7 separate regions of the Homo sapiens genome follow, and regions 2, 3, 4, 5, 6 and 7 are each linked to region 1. The links are contacts of gene promoters, found by promoter capture Hi-C in blood cells and fetal thymus (Javierre and others, 2016). All regions are on one chromosome and are shown on one strand. Each heading gives the region's core, a stretch centred on a gene start or on the middle of the fragment in contact. The rest is flanking DNA. Distances are from core to core; before and after follow the strand shown. Region 1 holds the start of TMEM176B (transmembrane protein 176B). Region 2 overlaps ACTR3C (actin related protein 3C). Region 3 overlaps LOC107986858 (a long non-coding RNA gene). Region 4 holds the start of REPIN1 (replication initiator 1). Region 5 holds the start of LINC00996 (long intergenic non-protein coding RNA 996). Region 6 overlaps GIMAP8 (GTPase, IMAP family member 8). Region 7 has its middle 7.8 kb from the start of GIMAP7.

Region 1 (2,590 bases), core at 1-2,500:
ACCAACCTTCGCCGTTGGGAGACACGGATCCAAGTTCTGTTGCTGTCATTCAGATGTTTAACTTCTGAAAGATACGTTCCATTTGCGGAAAATACATCCTCTTTTTCTCAGTGATTTAAAATTCTCTCCTGAGCAGAAATGAAGTTCCCCTAGGAATGTAGGCCTATTCTAGTCCTTATATTCTGCCCATTGGCATGTCTCATGGGCTAGGCATCATTACCACAATTTTAACATGGAGCTTAATGCTAATTGGGCTGTTTCATGATCCCCTCGTGTGGTTTTTCTTTCAGAATTGTCATGGCCATTTTTGCTAGACTACTTCTTCACATGCACTTTAGAATCAGCTTGCCTGGCTCTAAAATAAATCCTGCATAGGCAATTCTAATGGACATCCTGGCTAAGTATCACAGTTTAAATCAAATATTATTAACAATTCTAATAACACCTCCCATTCGTACTCTACCTACTTTTCAAAGCAGTTTCACTCTTTCACCCACCTGGCCTCCTTGGGGTTAGAAAGGACAGGAGTTAGACAATTCCGCACACGTACAAAGGAGCTTCAGACTGCTTCCAGCCCAGCCCCAGATTCCAGCCAGACCTTCCCTTGACGGCCCAGGCCTCGCCCTGAGGGCACCTCGGGTTCCAGCTACCTCCGGGCCCCCAGGACCACCGCTTCCCCCGCCCCACGCCAACCCCTAGATCTGCCTCGCCCCCGCCTGAAGAGTCGGATCTGAACCAGGCCGGCACCACGGAGATTCCCCTGCGGGCCGCCCGACGCCTGGTAGGTGGTGGGCTCTTCCCGGCTGCCCCGAACACTTTCCTCTGTCCAGCTCTTCCCGTGCCCCGGGGCTGGGGAAAGCGTCCGGCAGCCCCGCCGCTCCCTGGCCCCGTCCCAGGAGCCACCCCACCGTAGGGCTCCAGCCAGGGTCCAGGCGTGCAGGCGGCAGAAGGTGGACGGGACGCGCCAGCCCCAGGCCTCTCCTCCCGCTCTCCAGCCGTTTTTCTGGGGAGAAACACCTGCACCCAGCTGTCCCTCCCTCCTACGTGAGTCCTCCTGGAAACCAGGTTGGAGGAAGAAAGACGTCCTGTGGACAGGACGGGGTGGGGGCATGGCCCTGGGGACTCCTCGTGACAGAGGGTCCTGCGGCAAGAGGGTCTCCCGGGCCGCGGAGGCCCTGCCTCACCTGCAGTCCTCCGGGAGCCCGCGGCCGAGCAGAGCGGACACTAGCTGACCCCGAGCAGGGGAGCGACGGGAGGGCGGAGACGGCAGATGCACGGGTGGGGGCTGCGGCCCCGCCCAGGCTGCGCGGTTTCCCGAAACCAGCTGCGGCCCGGGGGCCCGGCAAAGGGGGTTCCGCCCGGAGGAGCGGACCGGGCGGGAGAAGACCGAGCCCCCGCGCGCCCCCTGCGCTCCCACTCGCGCACACTTGCACGCCGGCCCTGGCCGGGCGGGGCTGGAGGCGAGAACGACCCCACGGGCTTTCCCAGGGCCGTCCGCCCGCGGACCCTCCCAGCTCCCCAGAGCCCAGTGACCCTCGCGCAGCAGGAGAACCCCAGACGGACCCCAGGCCCTGCAGCCTGTCATGAACCCGAGGGGCTGAAGTTCAGCCCCACCCCCGCCTCCCCTCCCCGCCTCCCCCTCCAACTCTCAACCCACTTCTCCAGCCAGCGCCCCAGCCCTCCCGCCGCCCGCTCGCAGGTCCCGAGGAGCGCAGGTGAGGCGGCACCCCACTCCCGGCGGCCCCCGGGCCTCCTTCCGCACGCACCCCGAGCTGCCTCCGCACAGTTGGAGGAGCGTAGGAGGGACCCCCACCCAGGGATGACACTCCAGGAAGGGGACTGCAGAGGAAGCCAGGTGCGGCCCCGGCTTTTGACCTACCTCCGCACCGCAGCGCGGTCCTTCACGGGGCAGGGGCGGCGTGAACCCGTCGGGCGTGAGCAGCAGTCGGTGGAGCGGGAGGTCGGCGGTGGCGGGGATGGGGGTATCCGGAGCGCAGCCGGGGCGCAGCTGCTGGCACAGGAGCTCCACAGGCAGCCAAGGACTCGGTCCTGTCCCAGAGCCTGCGGACTGTGGAGGGGAGGCCGCAGGAAGAGCCCGGGAGGAGGGGGTGAGGGGTCGAGGTGTGGGGCGCTGCTTGACCCAGACGCCAGGGCCCTGGGAGGAGGATGAGGGGGACAGAGCAGATCTTGGGCGAAAGGGGAGGTTCCCGCAGGCTCTGTAGTCGCCGCAGTTCCAGCATGGTCAGCACCCCCTCTGCTACACACATTCCCCTCGTGAGGGGCCAGGGGTGCGGCCCTGTGACCAGGACAGCCATTCATTGGGTGACTTTGAGCCACCACTGGCCCCTGACCTCCCCAACTCCAATGAAATCTGCGAAAATCTTCTGACAGCCGTTCCTCTCTGGTGCTCCCTTCCTCATAGACTGTGTCCCTGACAATGGGAACAGCCGACAGTGATGAGATGGCCCCGGAGGCCCCACAGCACACCCACATCGATGTGCACATCCACCAGGAGTCTGCCCTGGCCAAGCTCCTGCTCACCTGCTGCTCTGCGCTGCGGCCCCGGGCCACCCAGGCCAGGGGCAGCAGC
Region 2 (2,590 bases), core at 63-2,562, 490 kb before region 1:
ACAGTCGTCAGGAGACCCTGAGATCATGTGGGTGGGGCACAGCCTAGTTTTATACATTTTAGGGAGATAGGAAATATCAATCAAATACATGTAAGATGTACATTGATTTGGTTCATGTCAGGCCTCTGAGCCGAAGCTCACCCATTGTAACCTCTGTGACCTGCACATGTACATCCAGATGGCCTGCAGGAGCCAAGAAGTCTGGTGCAGCCAAAAAACCACAAAAGAAGTAAAACAGCCAGTTCCTGCCTTAACTGATTAACCAACATTACATGCCACCATTGTGACTTGTCCCTGCCCTACCTTAACTGATCAGTCGACCTTGTGAAATTCTTCTTCTGGACAATAAGACTTATGATCTCCCCACCATGTACCTTGTGACCCCCTCCTCTGCTAACAATAAATAACCACCTTTTACTGTAATTTTTCATTACCTACCCAACTCCTATAAAGCAACCCCTTCCCCATCTCCCTTCGACGCCTTTTTCAGACTCAGTCCGCCTGCACCCAGGTGATTAAAAAGCTTTATTGCTCACACAAAGCCTGTTAGGTGGTCTCTTCACACAGAGGCGCTTGACATTTGGTGCCATGACTTGGTTCGGGGGACCTCCCTCCAGAGATCAATCGCCTGTCCTCCTGCTCTTTGCTCCATGAGAAAATCCACTTACAACCTCAGGTCCTCAGACCAGCCCAAACAAAACACCTCACCAATTTTAAATTGGGTAAGTGGCCTCTTTTTATTCTCTTCTCTAACCTCTGTCGCTATCCCTCAACCTCTTTCTCCTTTCAATTTCCACGTCACCCTTCAATCTCTCCCTTCCCTTCATTTCCTTTTGCTTTCTGGTAGAGACAGAGAAGACACGTTTTATCTGTGGACTCCAAACTCTGGAGCTGGTCACAGACTCGGGAAGACAGTCTTTCCTTGGTGTCTAATCACTGCGGGGACGCCTGCCTGATTATTCACCCGCATTCCAGAAGTGTTTAATCACTGCGGGGACACCTGCTTTGATCCTCCACCTTGGTGGCAAGTACAACCTCCCCTGGGTGGCAAGTACCACCCCCCTCTCTTCGAGTCTCTACCCCCTCTTTTCTTGGAACTTACCTTTTTCCTATGGGCAACCTTCCACCCTCCATTCCTCCTTCTTCCGCCTTAGCCTGTGTTCTTAAAAACTTAAAACCTCTTAAACTCTCACCTGACCTAAAACCTAAGAGTCTTATTTTCTTCTGCAACTCCGCTTGGCCCCAATACAAGCTCGACAATGGTTCCAAGTGGCCAGAAAACGGCACTTTCGATTTCTCCATCCCACAAGACCTAGATAAATTTTGTCGAAAAATGGGCAAATGGTCTGAGGTGCCTTACGTCCAGGCATTTTTTATACTTCGTTCCCTCCCTAGCCTCTGCTCCCAATGCAGCTCATCCCAAATCCTTCTTCTTTCTCTCCTGTCCGCTTCTTCAGTCTCTACCCCAACCTCAGAGTCTTCTGAATCCTCCTTTTCTGCAGACCCCTCTGACCTCTCTCCCCCTCCCCAGGCCACTCCTTGACAGGCTGAATCAAGTCCCAATTCCTCCTCAGCCTCTGCTCCCCCACCTTATAATTCTTCTATCACCTCCCCTCCTCACACTCAGTCTGGCTTACAGTTTCATTCCATGACTAGCTCTCCTCCCACCTGCCCAACAGTTTCCTCTTAGAGAGGTGGCTGGAGCTGAGGGCACAGTAAGGGTTCATGTACCTTTTTCTCTATCAGACCTTTTCCAAATCAGTCAGCATCTGGGCTCTTTCTCATCAGACCCCACTAAATATATACAAGAATTCCAATATTTGACTCAGTCCTACAATTTAACCTGGAGTGATTTAAATGTCATCCTGACCTCTCCCGTCTCCCCAGATGAGCGGGAAAGAGTTTATACCCTAGCCCATTCTCACACTGACACCTGCTTGCATCGTGAGCCAGACCTCCAAGAAGGCATCAGGGCAGTTCCCCGAGATGATCCCCAAAGGGAATACCAGACAGGCTTCCCAGGTATAGCTAGGTGAGATTACATGGTCTCTTGCCTAGTTGAAGGGCTAAAAAAGGCAGCATACAAAGCTGTTAGTTATGACAAGCTTAAAGAAGCCACTCAAGGTAAAGATGAAAACCCAGCCCAGTTCTTGGCCCGCTTGGTGGCTACCCTTAGACGCTTTACAGCCCTAGACCCTCGAGGGCCAGAAGGCCATCTTATTCTCAATATGTGTTTTATCACCCAGTCAGCTCCTGACATTAGAAAAAAGCTTCAAAAATTGGAATCTGGCCCTCAAACCCCACAACAGGAATTAATCAACCTCGCCTTCAAGGTGTTCAACAATAAAGAGGCAGCCAAGCGGCAACGCATTTCAGAGCTGCAACTGCTTGCGCCTGCTGTAAGACAAACCCCAGCCATGCCTTCAGCACACAAAAACTTCAGAACAACCAAACCACAGCCTCCAGCTACTCCTTTAAATCCTCCTCATGGACCTTGATTCAAGTGCCGCAAAACTGGCCACTAGACCAAGAAATGCCCACAGCCCAGGATTCTTCCTAAGCCGTGTCCCACCTGTGCGGGACCCCACTG
Region 3 (2,590 bases), core at 38-2,537, 450 kb before region 1:
AAATAAAACATGTTGCAGAATTGTTAAAAATAACAATAATGTAGCCAGGCATGGTGGTGGGCACCTGTAATCTCAGCTACTTGGGAGGCTGAGGCAGAAGAATCACTTGAACCTGGAAGGCGGAGGTTGCAGTGAGCTGAGATCACACCACTGCACTCCAGCCTGGGGGACAGAGTGAAACTCTGTCTCAAACAAATAAACAAACAAACAAAGAAAATTAATGAAAACACTATATATTAGAACCCATGAGCTGTATTTTGAGAAGTACAATTAAATACCTTTCTTTTTACTAATGAAAGACAAAATGAAAGTAAGCTAATTGTTAACTAGTAAAACCACCAATGAAACTTATGGTAAGGAAAAGGAAAGAACAAATAAAACTAAAAATGTAAATTAGAAAAGAGGAAATTCAGGAAATCCATTAATATATCACATTAATCAGTCAAGGAGAGAAAACCCCATGTAATAATTGCCAAAGATGCTGAAAAAACCTTTGAGAAAATTTAATATCCTCTGCTAATTAAAAAATAAAAGCTCTTGATAAGATAGATTATGAGTACCTTCTTAACATGATTATATGTATGTATAACATACTTAATGATGAAAAATAAACATTCTCATCAAATTCAGGATCAAGAAAAGGATGTCTTCTATTGCTATTATCATTTTACATTTTTTAAGAAACACTAGCCAGTGTAATTGGGCAGACATGAAAAATCAATGATTAAAAATTTCTTTTGAAAAATGGTGAGAAAAAGGCCGGGCGCGGTGTCTCACGCCTGGAATCCCAGCACTTTGGGAGGCCGAGGCGGGTGGATCATGAGGTCAGGAGATCGAGACCATCCTGGCTAACATGGTGAAACCCCGTCTCTACTAAAAATACAAAAAATTAGCTGGGCGTGGTGGCGGGTGCCTGTAGTCCCAGCTACTTGGGAGGATGAGGCAGGAGAATGGCGTGAACCCAGGGGGCGGAGCTTGCAGTGAGCCAAGATCGTGCCGTTGCACTCCAGCCTGGGAGACAGAGCAAGACTCCGTCTCAAAAAAAAAAAAAAAGAAAAATAGTGAGAAAAGTATCCTTATTTGCAAATGGTAGGACTGTGTACCTTCCAAATCCAAGAGAACTAACAGGAATAAATTACTGGAAACAATAAAATAATAAGTGATAGGAAATGGGATTAATATACAAAATCAGTAGGTTTTCTAACATGAATATATTTGGAAAAAAAATATATGTATATATATATATATATATATATATATATATTTGAGACAAGGTCTCACTCTGTTGCCCAGGCAGGAATGCAGTGAGATGTGTTCATGGCTCACTGCAGCCTCAACCTCCCAGGCTCAGGTGATCCTCCCACCTCAGCCTCCCGGATAGCTGGGACTACAGGTGTGCACCACCACGCCCAACTAATTTTTTTTTTTTTTTTGTATTTTGTGCAGTGATGAAGTTTCACCATGTTGCCCAAGCTGGTCTCAAACTCCTGGGCTCAAATGATCTGCCTTCCCTGGCCTCCCAAAGTGTTGGGGTTGCAGGCGTGAGCCACTGTGCCTGGCTGAAAATATAGTTTTTTAAAACCCCATTTACAATAATAAAAAAAGGTTAAGTTCTTAGGAATGAACTTAGTAAAAAAATACAAAGACTATTTAAAAAAACTAACAACAACAAAAAGAATATTTAAAAACTTAACATAATATTAAGGTATATGAAAGAAACCTTGACTAAATAGATAGAATCAAATCATAAAATGTGGCCAGGTGCAGTGGCTCATACCTGTAATCCCAGCACTTTGGGAGGCTGAGACAGGAGAATTGCTTGAACCTGGCAGGCGCAGGTTGCAGTGAGCTGAGATCATGCCATTGCACTCCAGTCTGGGCAACAAGGCTGAAACTCTGTCTCAAAAGGCAAAAAAAAAAAAAAAAAAAAAAAATCATAAAAATGTAAATCATTCCTAAACTAATATATACATTTAACAAGAAAAGTGGATCGCCTGAGATGGGAAGTTGGAGACCAGCCTGACCAACATGGAGAAACCCTGTCTCTACTAAAAGTACAAAATTAGCCGGGTGTGGTGGCCCATACCTGTAATCCCAGCTATTTGGGAGGCTGAGACAGGAGAATTGCTTGAACCTGGAAGGTGGAGATTGCGATCAGCTGAGATCACGCCATTGCACTCCGGTCTGGGCAACAAGAGTGAAACTCTGTCTGAAAAGGAAAAAATAAAATAAATAAAAATGTAAATCATTCCTAAACTAATATTTAAATTTAACAAGGAAAGACAATTGATTCTAACATGTATATGGAAAAATAAACAAGCAAGAATAAACAGAAGTATGAAGATAAAAATAATGTTGACCTCTTAGATGTCCAGATAGCCTATTTGATGTTAAAATGCATTAATAATCTAAAATGAAAACAGTGACATTAGCAAATGAATAGACAAAAAAATGGAACAGAATAGAAACCTCAGACATAAATCCAAATACATATGGGAATTTAATATGTGATAAAGGTGGCATTTCAAATCTTTAGGAAAAAGATGCATTAGCCAATAAACGGTGTTGGAATATACGGCTAGCCTTGTGG
Region 4 (2,590 bases), core at 62-2,561, 430 kb before region 1:
AGTACTCTAAGAAATGCAAGTACAAAAGATGAGAAATAACCATTTCAAACTAAATTTTTTTTTTAAAAAAGTCTGTGTTGTCAAGTATATGGAAAATGGGCATTTCTCAGGGAAAACTAATACGTTTTCCTGGAAGATAATTTAGAAAACATTTAAAAAATATATTCCTTTTATACAGCCATAAATAATCATGTTTAAAAGAATATCTAATAAAATGGAAGAAAATTCACAAGATCGTGTTAAGTGAAGAAGGCAGAATACATCTTCGCAAGGCATTATTCCAATTATGCCAGACATGCCATGGATATACGTAGAGAAAACACCGGAGGCAACATACCAAAATATTAAATGTAATTGACTCTACGAGGTAAAACTGAGTTTTATGTTCCCCTATTTCCTATTTATGCAATAGATTTAAAAAGTATTTTTACGACTAATTATACAATTCAAAAATTGCCTGTGTTGAAAAGCATGAAAGTACATGAAATTGTACTACCCTGGAAACCCCAGGAAGTGTTTAGTTTGGAAAGCCAGGGCCACCTGCTAGTGGGTGAGTCATGGGCACAGGCTCGCACCTGCCACCGCAGACGCCACACAGGCTGCTGAGCCTTTCCAAGCGAAATGCCCCACGTGCGCCAACGGCCACCTCGGCCGTCGCCCCACGCTTGGCCCGCAGCCAGAGGAAGCCCAGCAACTTCTGCTCTTTCTTAATTTCTAGAAAAGAGTGAAGAGAGGCCTTTTCAAAGTTCGCAGGATCGGGCCTTTTTGTGCTCCACTTTGGAACAAATCGGAAGCTAGGGCCTTCCAGGTGCGCCACCGCCGTCCCGGGACCGCCGCGGCCGCAAGCGTCCGCACTGCGGCCGGGGTGCGCGGCCTGAGAAAGGCCCGGGCAACGACGCTCCGGGGGCTTGCCGGAGCCCTCTTTGAAGTCTCCCGACGGGCTCCCAGCCTCTCATAAGGCAGCTAAGGCCGAACACCCCGGTGACCATAGGCCAGCCACGCGGTCGCCCGGGGACGCGCGTGCTCCGCAGGGACAAAGGGTCGGGAAACTTGAGCTCCGGCCAGTCCCAGAGAAACCCGGGCTGGTGGTCGCCATGGCAACGGAGTCCGACCCTCCGAGGCCTGCCGCCCTGGCGCGGCAGTGGCTTGAGTGACCCGGCCCGCTCTTGGCGGGGGCGCCCGCGCCCCGGCCCCGGCAGTCCCTCCCCGCCCCCAGGCCGCGGCCGCGGGAGCCGGCGACTGACCCTCGGCAGCTCCTGTAGTCACGTGGCGCTGGGAACCCGGCGGGGGGAGGTTGGGGACGGGCCTGGCAGTTGTGAACTCGAACCTGCCGCTGTCGCCGCGGCGGGGCGGGGAGCGAGAGTGGGCCGCGGAGGCCGGCCTTCGGGCTCCATGGACGGGCGCCGCGTCCCTGCACAGCCCGCCGCAGAGGTACGGCCGGGGCAGGGGCGCGGGGCCACCGCGGGCCCGCGGGGGGCCGCTCCACCTGCGGGGCGCGTGACCGTGAGTGTGCGCGACCGTGTGTGAGTGCGCGGGGGGGGACGCTGCTGGATCTGCGGGGGTGGGGGAGCGCACCTGCGCACAGGCTCCGCGAGCTGCGCCGTGCGTGGGACCCGAAATGGCTCACTCGCAAGAACGGGACCCGTGTGCCCGGGAGCGTGGACGGAGGACACGCATCAGTACAAAAGGGCGGTGTGGGGCTTCTGCCACCCGCGGCCAGCCGCGATGCGGAAGGGGATTCTGACGGAGTCGTGGTCACACCAGCTGGCCCTGCGCAGCCCCATGGGAAATAGGCCTGGAATTCCTGTCGGGAGGAGGCTGGGGGAAGGGGAGCCAGCAGGGATTCCAGAGTTCCTGCCATAGGCCGGCCTTTGGCCATCAGGGAAAGCCCAGACTCTGGCCACAGAATGGAGAATTCGTTCCGTGACCTTACCAGGGAAGAAAGTGACCCCGAAAGACAGCAGTGTGCTTCCTTGTTGAAGGGGCACATTCATTTATTAATCCAATGTCCATTAAGGTCACTCTGCCAGGCAGGATGTGGGGCTTATGGCTGGTGCGTGTGGCTTTGTGGGGGGAGGGGTTGTGGCTGGTGAGGACACAAAGCTGACTGCCCTAGAGGAGCTCAGAGCCTCACTTCTGTTTTCTCTTCCCTCCCCACAGGTAAGGCTGGCCTCTCTGCAGTCAGAGGTCTGAGCTCTGCCATGGGGATAGGGGTGTCTTTATTACTGCAGTTTTCTCTAACACCTGGGGGCTACCGGAGTGTGGGCCGAAGCAGGCGCTGCAGCCGCGGAAGTATCCCCAGGAACATCCCCAAGAGGAGCTGGAAAAAGCCTCATCCCCAGCTCTGCAGTCTCCAGGGTAGAGTCTGGCCTTTGCTGTGCTCCCAAACCACGCCACAACAGGGGTGCACGGGCGTCCCCATCCCGGCGGAAGGAAATGGCCCTTTCTCATATCCTGGGGTCTTCCCTGTGCACAGTCTGACACTGGGAATGAGTGACCTTTGTGTTCCCTGAGAAGAGAGAGTGCGCTCTAGGGAATTTAGAAGGATGTGTCTGGAGCTTGTGAGCAGGCACAGAAGGGCCCTTAGGAG
Region 5 (2,590 bases), core at 31-2,530, 370 kb before region 1:
ACATCAACAGTCCTCTTGGCAGTTATTGAAAAGGGACAGACCAACTCTGTCACCCCACTCTCCCTTCATCGGCCCACACTCAATACCAACACCAGTCTGGAGTGCATACTTGGAAGACTTGAAGGGGGAAAAGGAGTGAGAAGGAGGGGCTGTTGGAACCTTGAGCTGTGGGGAAGAGAGGCTTTGCTTAGGTGCTGGGGAGACTCCAGCTCCCACTTCAGCCCTGTGTCTGGGCCTGCTCCATGGTGGTGCTGAGGCCCTTCTGTGCCTGTGAAGCTGGACTATGAGAATTTTGTCTTTCTTGTGACTCCCTTTTCCACAGATCTTGGAGTTCAACAGGACACACAAGTCCTAGAACATTTAAAAACATAAGTAAATCCCCCTCCTTCTCCCACCTGGAGAACTTAGAATCGTCATGCCAACTTCTGGAGGCAATGGTCTTCAGATCCGCTTGGCTGTGGCCAAACTACAGGGTGTCATGGAGAAACACAGTCTGGTGGGAGGGGGCAGATGATGAAAGCAGAAGACAGGAAAGACAAAGACTTCTTGGTGTTATCTTCCATGGTGAGTGTGCAGTTTCCATATTCTCCAGCTATGAACTTGAACTCAATGGGAGAAATCTCCCAGTAAGATGTTATGTGGGTGGTGGCCGAGTAGGGGTGGGTTGGTCGCTGTGAACTGTCTGAGACTCTCCTGTCTTAACATTGGAGAAATGGAGACTTGAAGAGGTGAAGCAAATTTCCCTAGATGACTTGGGAACGTTGGGTTGTGGGGAGTTGGGTTTGAACTTGGACATTCAGTTTTGAATCCACGTGCTTACAGAGGGGTAGAGAAGGCTCTAGGGCATGAGAGTCAATTACTCAGCAGAGAAGGGAAAGGGAGAAGATTTCACACATTCCTGCCCTTCTGAGTTGATTTCAATCCTATCTGAGTAATAGACATCATTATGGTTAATATTTGTCTCTGATTGGTCGTCTTTGTTTTGACTCCCCCTGAATTAAGGATTCAAGGGCAAGTAGTTTATTTGAGAGTGGATCCCGAGAAACCCTGGTGGGGGAGTGGGAAAGTGAGAAAGAGAGGAGGCCACTGGAGGATGACTGGTAAGTTCATTTCCACTTTGGGCCACTGAGCTTGATCCTGCTGGGGAACCCTGGCAGGTACGTCTCAGATGCCAACCATGGAGCAAGAACACAGGGGTGTTCTTTCCATCTGGCCTTGGTGGCAGCATCTCCCAGGGGCACTGTGTCCCTGGTGCTCTGGTCTGTGGAGAGTCATAGGTGCTCTTGTTAAGCATCTGTGTGCACGGAGAGGAGAGTGCTTGGGAGGGATAGGGGGTGGCATCAAGGGCATCTGCAAACCTCAGGCAGCTGGAGGATGGCCAGGTGGCTGCCTCTCTGTAGCTCGTGTCCTGAAGTGTCTTTCTGTGCCCACTTATTTGTGCTCGACCTTGGGCTGCAAGTTTGTTGATAGTTACAGGGGGTGGCTCCAGCCACCGTGTTGGGTGTCTCACCCTGTCCAACCCCTGATCTTTATTGTGGACCAGGCTATAGACAGATCTTTGTCAGCTGCCCCTGTGAGTCTTCTGTGCAGACACCTTCCTGTGGAAGAGTTGGTCTCTGGTCACTGTTTCAAGTCTCTGCTGCGGCCACAGCTTTCTTATCTCTCACTTTGGGGATCTCAGGAAATGAGACACCAGGAGGTGTCTGCTGTACAAAATCCTATTTGCTCAAGGAACCTGCATATCTCAGCTCATGTTTCTTAATCATTTTTCTGATTCTAAAAAGTCGATGACAAAACTTCGATAGAAACACAGTTCTAGCATTTGGGATTGGAGGAAGAAGTGTATTCAGCATTCTACCTTCTTCCTGATTCTGTGAGCTTAGACCTGCTTCCACTTTCAATCTCTCTCATTGCAGGCTGAAGAGGACTGGCCTTTCAGTGGCCCTCGTGGAACGGTAGGAAGCTGAGCTGGACTCTCTGCCACATCGTTCGGTTCCCACAACAGCCTGGTAGGTCGGGGTAGTCACTTCCATTTGGGAGATGAGGAAGTCGAAGGAGAGAGCTAGAGTGAGCCAGAACTTAGGGCTGATCACAAATTGGATGAGTAATTGAGATAACTAGGATGGCCCCTAGCTAAGGCTGCAGGCAATGCCCCAAGGAGACTGTCACCTTTTTGTTACAATTTTCCAGGGTGTGATAGGACTTAGGAGGATGGTGTGTCTGTCCCTAGGACTGTAGGTTGTTCTAGAGAAAAACAAAATTTTAAGGACTTTTTCTTTGTGCATATGCCTCAGGTAGGCATCATGTGGGCCTAGGCAATAGGACCTAGGAAGGAGACTCCCCTGTTCCCAGGCCTGCCGCTCCTACTCAGGAGGCTGAAGGGTCCCCACCCCAACTAACCACAGAGTCAGACACATTCTTCCTAACACACCTTCCTCCCGACCTCCCAGCTTCCCTCTTTGTCACTGAAGTCATAGACTTTTTTTTTTGAAGAATTATCAACCTAAATAACAAACAGAAGCGATTCTCCAAAGATGATGAATTTATTTGGAAATGAGCAGCATGATTGTGATGCGGAGTGCCCGTGCCA
Region 6 (2,590 bases), core at 51-2,550, 350 kb before region 1:
GGTGAGTTTGGGTACCTTTTTGTCCTTAAGTGCACTTTCTACATGTTGGGGTGAAGTGCTACTGGCTGGGAAGCTGTATGTGTGGTAGGAGTGTGCATGTGCGTGTGTGTATGTGGGTGTGTGTGTGTAGGTCCTGACATCATGTGGAGCTGCAGGCAGGAGTCCAGCCAAGACTCATTGGTTTGGTCATACTCTGCTGGGGAACCATGCAAGGCTGTGTCGCTTAATTGGGAAAGAAATTTCTTTCTTCTTCAGACCTGTGGGAGGCCTCTGCTTCCTTCAGCTTGCTGTTTTCTCACTAGTGTCTTTTTTTCTTAAATTAATTTACAGAGACATCTCACTTCACTTGCATATATATGTGTGTGTGTATGTATATATGTATATATATGTATATATGTATGTATATATGTATATATGTGTATATATGTATATATATGTGTGTATATGTGTGTGTGTGTGTGTGTGAGATATATATATATATATATATATATATATATATATACATGCGAGTGGAACTACAGGCACCCACCACCATGCCTGGCTAATTTTTGTACTTTTAATAAAGACGGGGATTTCATCATGTTGACCAGGCTGGTCTCAAACTCCTGATCTCGAGGGATCTACCTGCCTTGGCCTCTGAAAGTGTTGGGGTTACAGGCGTGAGCCACTGCGCCCGGCCTCCCTCTCAGTTCTAAAAACCGTTTTTCTTCTTTTCTTCACATTTCTGTCTCTCCTGTGATCGTTCATTCCTTTACCTCCACGTATTGGGCATATACTACATGCCAGGCACAATGTTAGGGCCTGGGGACACAGAACAAAACAGGCATGTTTGGAGTTTCAGCACATGCTGTTATGGAGCTTTGTACCAAGGGTAGTACAGAGAACATTTAGACATTTAAAAATAAAATTAATAAATAATTATAAAATATAAATAATATCAGATAGAATCAATGTTATGAAGAAAATTGAGGAGAGAGAGGAGATAGGGCATTAGTGTGAGAGCTTCTCTCCATAGGGTGTATCTGGGTGAAAGATGCTCTTAGAAGATCCCCGGTGCTGATTAGGTTTGAACCCACCGGAAATATTTTTCCCCTGGTGGACCGGTTCTGAGGTTCTGAGGTGTCTGAAGCTGCGGTGGGCTCTGCCCCGTGCCGTGCAGCCATCCAGATGATTCCAGAGAGAGGCCTCTGCCAAGGCCCTTGTGGGCTTTGCCTCGCCCTTTTCGAAAGTGGGCCCTGCCACTGCCTTTACTACCTCCCTGGGTCATTCCCTGCAGTGCAGCCTCTCCCCTGAGTGCCACAGACCCCATTTTTTGAAAAGGTATGAACCACCAAATTGCTGCACAGAAAAAGGGCTTTCCCACTCTTCACTTTCTTCGGCGTATCTGCTGCATTTTGCTTGTTCTTCAAGTCAATAACCATCAACTCAGAAACAAGTATTTATCAGATACTTTCTTTATGTTGTAGATACAGTGGTGAGAAAAACAGAGCAAGTCCTTATTCTCATGGAACTCACCTGTAGTGGTGGCAGACTAAAAAGCACTAAGCAACTAAATGCAGATGTGAAGGGTGACAGTAGTGGGTGTTGGGTACGGGGCGGGGGGCACAGAGGAGTCACGACTCTTAGGGTGGCAGTGGTGGGTGCTGGGTATGGGGCGGGGGTGCCCGTGGGGCATAGAGGGGTGGACAGCTCTTAGGGTGGCAGTGGCGGGTGCTAGGTATGGGGTGGGGGTGTCAGTGGGGCACAGAGGCATGGACAGCTCTTTAATAGCGGGTGGAGGCTGGAGAGGGCCTCCTGTACTAAGGGGACAGTGTGATAGAGACCTAAGGGAAGTGCTCAGGCACATGTCTTGCACATGTCTGCAAGGGACAATGCCCCAGTTCAGATGAACAGCAAGCATGTTTGAAGTACAGCGCAGGCTGATGTGACTATGGCACACAATGTGAGGGGAAGGGGGTGGGAGATGAGGTCAGAGAGCAGCTGGGCACAAGGTAGGGTCTCGTGACCACTATAAAGGCTTTGCCTTTTACTTTGAATGGGTGGAGAGTCACTGGGGGTGGGGGGAGGTTTAGAATGAAGCGTGACATTACCTGTCTCTTGTTTTAACAGGAGAGGAGAACTGTGGCTATTGGTGGACAATAGACAGCTGGAGAAGGGTGGAAACCGGGGAGCAGTGTTAATATTACTGCAAAAGTCCAAAGAGGAGCTGATGACCAGTTCAATCTGGAAAAGTTAGGAAAGGCTTGACATGGAGCCTCAGAGTCCTTGGGCTAAGTGATGGAGAATGGGTAGGAACGTTCCAGGCAGACAGGAGGATGGGGTGCAGGCAAGGGTGTGCTGGACCATCTGGGAAGCTGTAGCTAAGGTGTCAGTGGAGAGATGGGGCCTTGATTGTGGAAGGTACCACAGTAACAGGCTGCACATTCTTTTTGAGCCTACAGGAACACTTACAAAAATTTCACTGAGCCAAAAAGCAAATCTCAACCAATGACAAATAGTTTATACAGACATTGTTCTCTGGCCACAATGCAGCATTTGAAATAAAAAGGTAGTAGATGTCTCAATACATTTTTAAATTTAGTAATCACTT
Region 7 (2,590 bases), core at 28-2,527, 290 kb before region 1:
CTCGCAGAGGGGGATTTGGCAGGGTCATAGGACAATAGTGGAGGGAAGGTCAGCAGATAAACAAGTGAACAAAGGTCTCTGGTTTTCCTAAGCAGAGGACCCTGCGGCCTTCCGCAGTGTTTGTGTCCCTGGGTACTTGAGATTAGGGAGTGGTGATGACTCTTAAGGAGCCTGCTGCCTTCAAGCATCTGTTTAACAAACCACATCTGGCACCGCCCTTAATCCATTTAACCCTGAGTGGACACAGCACATGTTTCAGAGAGCACAGGGTTGGGGGTAAGGTCATAGATCAACAGGATCCCAAGGCAGAAGAATTTTTCTTAGTACAGAACAAAATGAAAAGTCTCCCATGTCTACCTCTTTCTACACAGACACAGCAACCATCCGATTTCTCAATCTTTTCCCCACCTTTCCCCCTTTTCTATTCCACAAAACCGCCATTGTTATCATGGCCTGTTCTCAATGAGCTGTTGGGTACACCCCAGACGGGGTGGTGGCCGGGCAGAAGGGCTCCTCACTTCCCAGTAGGGGTGGCCGGGCAGAGGTGCCCCTCACCTCCCGGACGGGGCGGCTGGCCGGGCGGGGGGCTGACCCCCCCACCTCCCTCCCGGACGGGGCGGCGGGCCGGGCGGGGGGCTGACCCCCCCACCGCTTACTGAATATTTTAAGCCCACTGTTGATACTTCTGTTTAGAAAAAAAGATTCAAAATATTACTGCTCATTGACAAAGCATTTGGTCACCCAAGATCTCTTATGGAGATATACAAGGAGATTTCATGCCTGCTAATACAACATCCCTTCTGCAGCTCATGGATCAAGGATAATTTTGACTTTTGAGCCTTATTATTTAAGAAATATATTTTATAAGGCTATAGTTGCCATAAATAGTGATTCTTCTGATAAACCTGGGCAAAGTAAATTGAAAACTTTCTGGGAAGGATTCACCATTCTAGATACCATTAACAACATTCATGATTCATGAGAGGAGATAAAAATATTAATGTTAACAACAGTTTGGAAGAAGTTGATTCCAACCCTCATAGATGACTTGGAGGGGTTCGAGACTTCATTGGAGGGAATCACTACAGATGTGGTGGAGGTAGCAAGAGAAGTAGAATTAGAAGTGGAGGCCAGGTGTGTTGGTTCATGCCTGTAATCCTAGCACTTTGGGAGGCCAAGGCAGGAGGATCACTTGAAACTAGGAGTTTGAGACCACACTGGGCAACACAGTGAGATCCTGTCTCAACAAAAAAAAAAATAATTAGTAAGACATGGTGGTGTGTGCCTGTAGTCCCAGCTGCTTGGGAGGCTGAGGTGTGAGCATCACTTGAGCCCAGGAGCTCAAGGCTGCAGTGAGCTATGATCACACTACTGTACTCAAGCCTGGGTGACAGAGTGAGACCCTGTCTCTAACAACAACAAAAGAAGAATGTAGGCTGAAGATGTGACTGAATTGCTGCAATCTCATGATAAAACTTGAATGGATGAGGAGCTGCTTCTTATGGATGAGAAAAGAAACTGATTTCTTGAGATGGAAATGACACTATGAGAATGAAAAGGCATAAGAATGATACAATGGACTTTGGGGACTTGGGGAAAGGGTGGGAGGGAGGTGAAGAATAAAAGCCTACACACTGGGCACAGTGTACACTGCTCAGGTGATGGCACCAAAATCTCAGAAATCACCACTACAGAACCTATCCCTGTAACCAAACACTACCCAACCCCCCAAAACCTATTGAAATAAAAAATAAATAAAATCTCCTTCTTCATCTCAAAAAAAAAAAAACTACTTTTGGCGAAGATGCTGTGAACATTATGAAATGACAACAAAGGATTTAGAATATTAAATAAACTTGATAAACAGCAGCAGGGTTTGAGAAGATTGACTTCAATTTTGAAACAAGTTCTACTATGCTTAAAATGCGATCAAACAGCATCACACATGCTACAGAGAAACATTTTGTGAGAGGAAGAGTCATTCTATGTGACAAACCTCATTGTTATCTTAGTTTAGGAAATTGCTACAGCCACCCCAGCCTTCAGCAATCACCATCTTGATCAATCAGCAGCTATCAATACTGAGGCAAGACCCTCCACCAGCAGAAAGATTATGACTCACTGAAGGCTCGGAGGATTGTTAGCATCTTTTAGCAATAAAGTATTTTTAAATTAAAGCGCATATATTGTTTTCTAGACATAATGCTATTGCACATGTAATAGATTACGGTGTAGTATAAACATAACTTTTATATGCCCTGAGAAACCAAAAAATTCATGTGGCTCTTTTTATAGTTACATTTGCTTTATTGCAGTTGCTGGCATTGAACTTGCAATATCTCTGAGGTGTGCCTGTAGTATCTATAAAGGGGTGAGAAGGGTACTCAGCATACAGTAAGTGATCAGCAAGTGTCAGCTAGTAGCAGTGGTGTCAGCAATAGTAATGGTAATGGTAATACTCTTGATGTCAGTCCCAGGATCGTGGTTTGGTCTCCTTAAGCTCACGTATTATACAATTTCACATCATAGGTGTCCAGATACATAAATAGAACTGAAGGCCCTAAAGGGAGAGACAGAGTTGGCGGGCTTG

Evidence for each region. Contacts are between HindIII fragments. The CHiCAGO score rates a contact against its expected background, and 5 or more counts as called.
Region 2: a contact is called between a fragment that was not itself captured here and the fragment with the promoter of TMEM176B in region 1, in 4 of 17 cell types (total CD4 T cells, naive CD4 T cells, fetal thymus and 1 more). The highest score is 6.4, in total CD4 T cells.
Region 3: a fragment that was not itself captured here is called in contact with the fragment with the promoter of TMEM176B in region 1 in 6 of 17 cell types (naive CD8 T cells, non-activated CD4 T cells, activated CD4 T cells and 3 more); the score reaches 7.3 in naive CD8 T cells.
Region 4: a contact is called between the fragment with the promoter of REPIN1 here and the fragment with the promoter of TMEM176B in region 1, in 8 of 17 cell types (monocytes, total CD8 T cells, naive CD8 T cells and 5 more). The highest score is 10.4, in monocytes.
Region 5: a contact is called between a fragment that was not itself captured here and the fragment with the promoter of TMEM176B in region 1, in 11 of 17 cell types (non-activated CD4 T cells, naive CD4 T cells, total CD8 T cells and 8 more). The highest score is 11.4, in non-activated CD4 T cells.
Region 6: a contact is called between a fragment that was not itself captured here and the fragment with the promoter of TMEM176B in region 1, in 4 of 17 cell types (monocytes, M1 macrophages, M0 macrophages and 1 more). The highest score is 7.2, in monocytes.
Region 7: a fragment that was not itself captured here is called in contact with the fragment with the promoter of TMEM176B in region 1 in 1 of 17 cell types (monocytes); the score reaches 5.7 in monocytes.

The regions. Positions count from the first base shown.
Region 1 is chr7:150,799,114-150,801,703 of GRCh38, forward strand. It overlaps TMEM176B (transmembrane protein 176B), which reads right to left and starts at 1,251. Exons shown (of 7, transcript NM_001101312.2): 1 at 1,185-1,251. It overlaps TMEM176A (transmembrane protein 176A), which reads left to right and starts at 1,656. Exons shown (of 7, transcript NM_018487.3): 1 at 1,656-1,715; 2 at 2,423-2,590. The coding sequence starts at 2,438. RefSeq lists enhancers at 248-947, 948-1,647, 1,648-2,347. The HindIII fragment of the contact is 5,518 bases long and covers 1-2,590 here.
Region 2 is chr7:150,307,125-150,309,714 of GRCh38, forward strand. The region is part of intron 1 of ACTR3C (actin related protein 3C); the gene reads right to left. It also overlaps a transcript of LRRC61 not described here. Among named protein-coding and RNA genes, the nearest start is that of LRRC61, 15 kb to the right of the region's middle. The HindIII fragment of the contact is 1,582 bases long and covers 522-2,103 here.
Region 3 is chr7:150,348,887-150,351,476 of GRCh38, forward strand. The region is part of intron 2 of LOC107986858 (a long non-coding RNA gene); the gene reads left to right. Among named protein-coding and RNA genes, the nearest start is that of RARRES2, 8.6 kb to the left of the region's middle. The HindIII fragment of the contact is 7,789 bases long and covers 1-2,590 here.
Region 4 is chr7:150,367,511-150,370,100 of GRCh38, forward strand. REPIN1 (replication initiator 1) reads left to right here and starts at 1,312. Exons shown (of 3, transcript NM_001099695.2): 1 at 1,312-1,431; 2 at 2,161-2,358. The coding sequence starts at 2,202. All of the region lies in intron 3 of REPIN1-AS1 (REPIN1 antisense RNA 1), which reads right to left. RefSeq lists enhancers at 786-845, 885-1,689, 1,690-2,495, 2,496-2,590 and silencers at 1,096-1,565, 2,076-2,225. The HindIII fragment of the contact is 10,402 bases long and covers 1-2,590 here.
Region 5 is chr7:150,431,821-150,434,410 of GRCh38, forward strand. LINC00996 (long intergenic non-protein coding RNA 996) reads left to right here and starts at 1,834. Exons shown (of 4, transcript NR_034033.1): 1 at 1,834-2,009. RefSeq lists an enhancer at 1,975-2,074. The HindIII fragment of the contact is 2,700 bases long and covers 1-2,590 here.
Region 6 is chr7:150,452,209-150,454,798 of GRCh38, forward strand. All of the region lies in intron 1 of GIMAP8 (GTPase, IMAP family member 8), which reads left to right. Among named protein-coding and RNA genes, the nearest start is that of GIMAP8, 2.9 kb to the left of the region's middle. The HindIII fragment of the contact is 4,164 bases long and covers 1-2,590 here.
Region 7 is chr7:150,505,752-150,508,341 of GRCh38, forward strand. No RefSeq gene overlaps it. Among named protein-coding and RNA genes, the nearest start is that of GIMAP7, 7.8 kb to the right of the region's middle. The HindIII fragment of the contact is 4,149 bases long and covers 1-2,590 here.